Regions from separate parts of the Homo sapiens genome. Here region 1 is linked to region 2. The links are contacts of gene promoters, found by promoter capture Hi-C in blood cells and fetal thymus (Javierre and others, 2016). All regions are on one chromosome and are shown on one strand. Each heading gives the region's core, a stretch centred on a gene start or on the middle of the fragment in contact. The rest is flanking DNA. Distances are from core to core; before and after follow the strand shown.

What was found. The method cuts DNA at HindIII sites, captures the fragments that hold promoters and counts their contacts. A CHiCAGO score of 5 or more calls a contact.
Region 1: a fragment that was not itself captured here is called in contact with the fragment with the promoter of TCEAL7 in region 2 in 1 of 17 cell types (naive CD4 T cells); the score reaches 5.4 in naive CD4 T cells.

What each region holds. Positions count from the first base shown.
Region 1 is chrX:103,439,204-103,442,677 of GRCh38, forward strand. The region is part of intron 2 of LL0XNC01-250H12.3 (a long non-coding RNA gene); the gene reads left to right. Among named protein-coding and RNA genes, the nearest start is that of LL0XNC01-250H12.3, 36 kb to the left of the region's middle. RefSeq lists enhancers at 1,234-1,919, 1,920-2,606. The HindIII fragment of the contact is 2,150 bases long and covers 1,135-3,284 here.
Region 2 is chrX:103,328,490-103,332,460 of GRCh38, forward strand. It overlaps TCEAL7 (transcription elongation factor A like 7), which reads left to right and starts at 1,750. Exons shown (of 3, transcript NM_152278.5): 1 at 1,750-1,815; 2 at 2,434-2,551; 3 at 2,888-3,837. The coding sequence starts at 2,915. The coding sequence ends at 3,217. RefSeq lists an enhancer at 2,266-2,765. The HindIII fragment of the contact is 8,380 bases long and covers 1-3,971 here.

The DNA of each region.
Region 1 (3,474 bases), core at 960-3,459, 110 kb after region 2:
GAAGCCAGGGAGGGGGCTTCCAGGTCATAAGCGGTTTTAAAGATTTTCTGATTGGCAATTGGTTGAAAGAGTTATTATCTAAAGACCTGGAATCAATAGGAATGTCTGGGTTAGGGCAAGGGGTTGTGGAGACCAAGGTTTTATCATGCAGATGCAGCCTCCAGGGAGAGGCTTCAGAGCTCTTATCAGACCTAAAAAGGTGCCAGACTCTTCGTTAATTCTCTGCTGGATCAGAGGAAAGACCTGGAAAGGATAGGGAATTCTCTACAGAATGTAGATTTTCACCAGAAGGGACAACTTTGCAGGGCCATTTCAAAATATGTCAAGGAGATATGTTTTGTGGTAAAGTACTTTGATTCCATTCAGGGCCTGCTATCTTGTGATGCTATACTAGAGCCAGTCTGGAATTTGGTGTCTTATTTGGTGTCTTTATTGCTACAAAGTCTTGTTTTGTCAGTCTTAAGATCTCTTTTAATGTTAATGCTGGTTAGTTGTGCCTGAATTCCAAAGACAGAATAGTATAATGAGGCATGTCTGACCACCCATTCCTGCCATGGCATGAACTAGACTTTCAGATTTACTTTGGAATGCCCTTGGCCAAGAGGGGAGGTCTATTAGTCTGTTGGGGGCTTAGAATTTTACTTGTGGTTTACAGAACCTTTGAGAAGTGTTTGGGCTGTGAAGGCTCTACCTTCATGAATGGATTGTCATTATTACAGAAGGTGGTTCATTATTGCAGGAGTGAATCTGTTATAAAAGGGTACATTCAGGTCTCTTTTGCCTCTTGCCCTCTGCCCTGTGATGATACACCAAGAAGGCCCTCACCAGATGCTGGTCCCTCAATCTTTGATTTCTCATCCTCCGTAACTGTGAGCCAATAAAATTCTGTTAATTAGAAATTACCCAGTCCCAGGTATTGTCTTATAGCAGCAAAAACAGACTAAGACAGGAAATTGGTGTCAAGAAGCCTGGCTGTTGCTATAAAAAATACCTGAAAACGTAGATGCAACTTTGGAACTGGATAATGGGTGGAGGCTGGAAAATTTTGGAGGAGCAGGGTAAAAAAGCCTAGATTTCCATAAATGGAACAATTCAGGTGAGGGCTCAAAGAAGAGAACTGTAGGGAAAGTCTGAAGCTTCTTAGAGATTACTTAAGTGGTAATTGCTGGGTGAGGTGTCAGAGCCCCAGCATCAGAAAGTGGTTGACTTGCAGGTTGGTAAGAATTTACTGACAACAGTATAGGTTTGAAAAAGGAAAGTTTTATTAGAAAAAAAGTATGTTGCAGAAGAAATGCAGCATTTACGGACCTTAAAGTGGGAGCTTAAGTGTAATTTGGACCATATTAGCCATGTAGGTCATAATAAGTGATTACATTTGTAGACATTTTGGTTCCTTAATGTCAGCAAGGGTTGTACAATGAGTTTTGACATGCATGGATTCCAGAGATGTACAGAAATTCTAGTTACTTAGAAAATTTTTGAAAGAGGCCTGGAACCTTTAGGCACTAGGGAAGTTTAATTACTTCTAAATTCCTCAGATAAGGAATTTTGCCTCAGAATGGCCTGTTTGATGGTTGCCAGGTGTTTTTGGCTTTCTTCGTTACACTTCTAAATTCCTCAGATAAGGAGTTTGTGTCTCCAGGGCTTACTCGATGGCCACCTGGTGATTTTGCTCTCCTGACTTTCCCCCTGACAAATATTTTGGTAAAATCTTTGACCCTCTAGTAATGATCAGAATGTTCATAGAAATATGGACAGTAAAGGCCATTCTGATGAGGTCTCACATATAAATGAGGAACAAAGTATTATAAACTGGAGGAAAGGCCATCTTCATTATAAAGTGGCAAAGAACTTGGCTGAATTGTTTCCAAGCCCACACAAGGGCTTTGTGGACGGCATAGTTGAAAAGCAGTGAGCTAGGAAATCGGTGAAAGAAACATCTAAACAAAAAAACGTTCCATATGTTGTGTGTCTTCCTTCAACTGCATACAGTAAAATGCTAGAGAAAAAAATGATTTAAAGATGGAATTTATAATTAAAAGGGAGCCAGGCACGGTAGCTCACGCCTGTAATCCCAGCAATTTGGGAGGCCAAGGCAGGTGGATCACTGGAGATTAGGGGTTCGAGACTAGCCTGGCCAACATGGCGAAACCCCATCTCTATTAAAACTACAAAAATTAGCCAGGTGAGGTGGCACATGCCTGTAATCCCCGCTACTCAGGAGGCTGAGGCAGGAGAATCGCTTGAACCCAGGAGGCGGAGGTTGCAGTGAGCCAAGAGCACACCACTGCACACCACCGTGGGCAATAGAGTGACTTCATCTCAAAAAAAAAAAAAAAAAAGTGGCGGTGGGGTGGGGAACAAAACTTAGAGATTTAAAGGATTCTCAGCCTAGTCAGGTGGTAGAGAATCAAAGAGCACTTTCAGGAGAGGAAACCAAGGATGTTTCCAAGTGACCGTTTCATAAGGAGATTGGTGTGGATAGAAGGAAGCCAGGGGCTATTCATCAGAACAATGGGAGAATGAACCCAAAGTCACTTCAGAGATTACCAGTGCCACCCTTCCCATCACAGGCTCTGAGTGCCAAGACCTGGGTGAAGGAAATATGTCAAAAAGAGAGGCTGAGGACGACCTTAGAACCTTTGGACTCACGTCCCAGGGCTGCTTCAATTTTCTGCTCCCCATATTCCAGTGCAGCATTTCTTGACTACCCCAGTCATGGCTCAAATGGGCCAAGGTGCAGCTCGACCTGCCACACTGGAAGGTACAAGTCATAAACTGTGGTGGAATCCACATGATGCTAACTCTGCAGGTGTGCCGTATGCAAGAGCTGTATGGGCACGTCTTCCTCTACCTAGATTTCAAAAGATGTTTCAGAAGCCTTGGTGGACAAGCAGAGACTTGTTGCAGAGGTGGAGCAAAAGCAGAGAGCCCTCACTAGGGCAATGCCCAGTGGAAACTCAGCTTTGATGTGGAAGTTCTGCTGGGCATTTCCTTAGTCAGGGCTCTCTCCAGTCAGAACTGTGGGGTCAGAGCCACTGCAGAGAGTCCCCACTGGGACAATGCCTCGTAGAATTTTGGGAGTGGACTGCCTGAGAGACCCCAGAATTGTAGGGCTACTACTGTGCAACACCAGCCTAAGAGAGCTGCAGGCATGAGACTCCAACCTATGAGAATTGCTGTGTGGGCTAAGCCCAGAAAAGACATAGGGGCAGAGCTGCCTAAGGCCTTGGGGGCCCAATTTCACCTCAGTGTGTCCAGGAGATGGGACATGAGGTCAAGGAAGCTTATTCTAGAGCATTAAAATTTAATGTTGTTCACCCTGTTGAATTTTGGACTTACGTGGGACCCTCTTTTCTTGTCTATTTCTCCTTTTTGGAATGGGAGTGTCTATCCATTGCCTGTTCCACCACTGTATTTTAAAATACATAACTTGTTTTGATTTCACAGGCTCACATCTGGAGAGGAATTTGC
Region 2 (3,971 bases), core at 500-2,999:
CCCATCCCTGGTGCCAGACCTGCCCCCACATATTTAGGCTTCAGGCTGCCTTGGTACTTGTCAGTCATGTATTAAATGTTTTACACATATTAAATATGTAATTTAGTCCTGAAAACTCTGTGAGATACTTCAAACTATTAGCCTCATTTTATAGATGAAGCACAGAGAAGTTGCAGTATCCAAGTTTTACATTCAAGTTTATACAAAAGCTAAGTAAGTACAATTAATTCAAACTAGGATTTGTCCAATGCCATTCTTCTTACTAATATGCAAAGTCTTCAACACCCGAATCCTTCAGCCATTTTATAACTCTGAGTCTAACCATCTGCATGAAAAGCTGTTCACAGAGGATTCAGGAATTTTTCTCCCCACAAACGAATTTTTTGCCTCTATCACAACTAGTCATTCCTTAATAACTGTGACAATGATGCTCTACTGTTTTTAAGACTTTTTTCTGACCACTGAACTTTTTTCTGGAGTCATTTATATCAAACTGATTAGTGGTAACTTTATATTCATAATGAGCTGCAATCTTCCTAAAAACAACTTATGAGAAGTTTACACATCTCCCTTTCTATTGCATATATTTCAAGCTAACAAATCAAGAGCAAATCTACTTAGACAAGTACCCAAATCCTTAGCAACAAAAAGTTTAGTGTGTTGGGTGGCTAAATGTGACTAATTTTTGTTAGTACTACAAGTAGCTTTCAATACATCAGTATGGCTAAATAAGGTCATGGAAAACATAAATAGGATGGAGATGTCTAGGGAAAATGAAAAACTATTCTTTTCTGAATGAGAGTGTTGAAAAAAGTTGGGATATTAGGGGTACAGTATTGAAGAAAAAAGGGTTATGTGTATGGTATAAACTGGAAGAAAGAGGGCATGATACTGAGCTCAAACTAGTTAAAATTTGTGACTTACAGTTGCGATCTGGAAATCTAAGGGCAAGGTGCTGTAGGATTATGGTCTCAGTGACTCACCTAATGGAAGGACCTCACATGCCCGGGAGCCCCTCAAAAGAGTAGGTTCCAACTGACCTGTACATCTTAAACTTCAAAAAATATGTCTGCCTAAAGGGTCTATATTTATATTATGACTTCAGCAGCAGAAACAGGTGGCTGGCCTTTTTATCCTCCTATCTGGAATCTTTTTCCAAATGTACATATCTTTATCATATTTCTGATTATTAAAAGTATATAATAAGTTTATGGAAAAATTGGAAAAGAATAAGAAATTATCAAAACAAAAGTAAGAAGCACAATCCAAATCATTACCTCCTTTCCTAATTCACCCCATTCCCTCCAATCTGGTTTCAAGGATTGGACTCCAAGGGAAATGATGGCTATTAGTGGCTGAGAGGCGATTGGATGGAGGAGACTGCCACTTTTCTTTTCTTGTAGCTTAGAAAAGGATAAGTAATCCTCCCTCTCAGCACAACCACAAAAAAAGTAACAATGGTTAATATAACTTTGGGAAAATGCAGCCCCTCCCTGGTAATCAGAGAAAGGCAAATTCTGACCACAGGGAGAAGGCGCCACTTTTGACCTCTGGAATTAGCAAAGACAAAAATGAGTGACAGGGCCTGGTGTGGTGTGGGGTGGGAGGTTGGTAAGCCGGTCCACTTCTGCAGCGCTGCTGGTGGGAGGGGAAAGTGGGGACCAGAGATGGGGGATGACATAATCCTCACGTGATCAGGAGCTGACGTGAACCGAAGTCCTTATATTCCCGGGCTTCTTTCTCCTCTGGGTACCAGCTCCTTACTGCCCTGCAGACAAGCGTGCCGTGCGTGCTTGTGGCCAAGGGAAGGAAGAGGTAAATTCCTTAAATCCCAGCAGGTTGGAGTGAAGGAACCACTGGACCCCCGGGGTCAGTAGTGGGTGAATCTAATGACTGGAATAGGTCCAGACTTGCTTTCCCAAAACCGCTGCAAAATCGTCGGAGATAATTGTATCTTTTGCAGGGGGAAGCAAGGGGGTAGGTCGAAATCTTTTGAGAGACACCTAGAGATTTAGTGACAGCTTTGAAATAATCGGCTTCTCTCACCCTGGCATGCTTTCTTTTTATCCTTCTCCTCATCTTTCTCCAATTTTGTTAAGAGAAAATTTTAGGCCTGGGGTATGTGTTGGTGTGTGGAGAAAGGCTGAAATCCCGGGATGGAGACAACAGAAATTTAGAGATCATTTGAAAATAGTTCACCTCACTCAATGCCGGCCTGTGGTGGTGGGGTGGGGCGCGGGACGGGGCGAAGGAGGGAGACGCGGGCCTTGCAAGGCCCAGGCCTGAGGGTGAGGAGTGGGGAGTGGAAACGGAAATCCTGAAGGAAAGGATACAGACAGGAAGGAGGGGCCAGGAGGTAGAAATCCGGGGGGCGATGACGGTGATGATGAGAATCCCAGGTTCAAAATAATAACGTCTGTCTTGTCTCTGGAGCTGGTTGATCCACAGATAGCTCCTTCCTCCCCGCCCCTTCCTTTTTGTTTGGAGGTCCCAGGATCTGTGTTCACAGACATCTGGGGGAAGAAAAGGAGCAGGAAACTACCCCGCACAGGTCAGTATGAGAGAGGCACTTAGACTGAGATCTCTGAGGATAGGAGTCGGGAAGGGGCAAAAGCTAGGCGAAATTTGCGGCTTCGCAGTCCATCTCCTTTTCTGCTCCGCCTCTCCTGCCTATTGGAGAGGCCATTAGCTTTGTCTGCTGGGGAAACGGTGGGTTCCTGAGGTGGGAGGGGAGAAAAGGGGGAGATGAGAGGGTGGAGGGAACTGCCGCAGACTTATGAGGTCTGGACCTGTGGGGCAGAGATGGGAAAGTATCTTGCCTCAGAGAGAAACTGACAATCGTGATTCAAAAGTAATGAAGCAATTTGTCTTTACATTTTCTCCCTAGAGTTAAGCAGGAAACAACAACAACATCATGCAAAAACCCTGCAAAGAAAACGAAGGAAAGCCAAAGTGCAGCGTGCCAAAGAGGGAGGAAAAACGCCCGTATGGAGAATTTGAACGCCAGCAAACAGAAGGGAATTTTAGACAGAGGCTGCTTCAGTCTCTCGAAGAATTTAAAGAGGACATAGACTATAGGCATTTTAAAGATGAAGAAATGACAAGGGAGGGAGATGAGATGGAAAGGTGTTTGGAAGAGATAAGGGGTCTGAGAAAGAAATTTAGGGCTCTGCATTCTAACCATAGGCATTCTCGGGACCGTCCTTATCCCATTTAATTAATTTCTCTGACAATTCAATTATTTTCTGTTATTAATGTTGCCACTGCTTTCTGTTTGTCTGCACTTTCTTGATAAATATTTGCTATCGTTTTACTCCAGTCATTCGATGTTGCTGAGATTTACATATGACTCTTGTCAACATCTCATCTTTTGACCCAATCTTATTCATTTAATAAGAGGTCTCATTCATTTGCATGGAAAAATGCTCATTGTATATTGCAAAGTGAAAATAACGAGTTGCAAAACAGTGTATACATATATGTGTGTATATATGTACACTTTATTTGTACATTTCTATGTGACATAATGCAAAGGAAAGTGTCTGATTTTATTATACACCAAAGGTTAACAGTGAATCTCTGTGTGATCTCTTTTTTTTTCTTTTTGCCTATCTGCATCTTCTCACTTGCCAAAAAATGAATATATGTTTATGTGTGTATATTACTTGTGTCACAAAAAACCCTAAAGTAGACAGTAAAAGAACTTGTCAATCGCCTTTGGAAGGCAATGAAACACTTAATAAACTCTCAATAACAGAAGCGTAAAAATGAAATGTAAACCTCCAATTACCTCTGGATCTCTTAGCCAGAGTAATAAACTGGTAATTATTACAGATACACACGTTTAAGACTCAGTCTTTTCATAGGGAAAATATTTGCCTCACAGGGCTGCTGTGGGAAGGAAATGAGGCAGTAACCAGCTGTGCTCAGTGGGATCTTGTTCCCCACTGTGCATACAGAATCCCAACCCA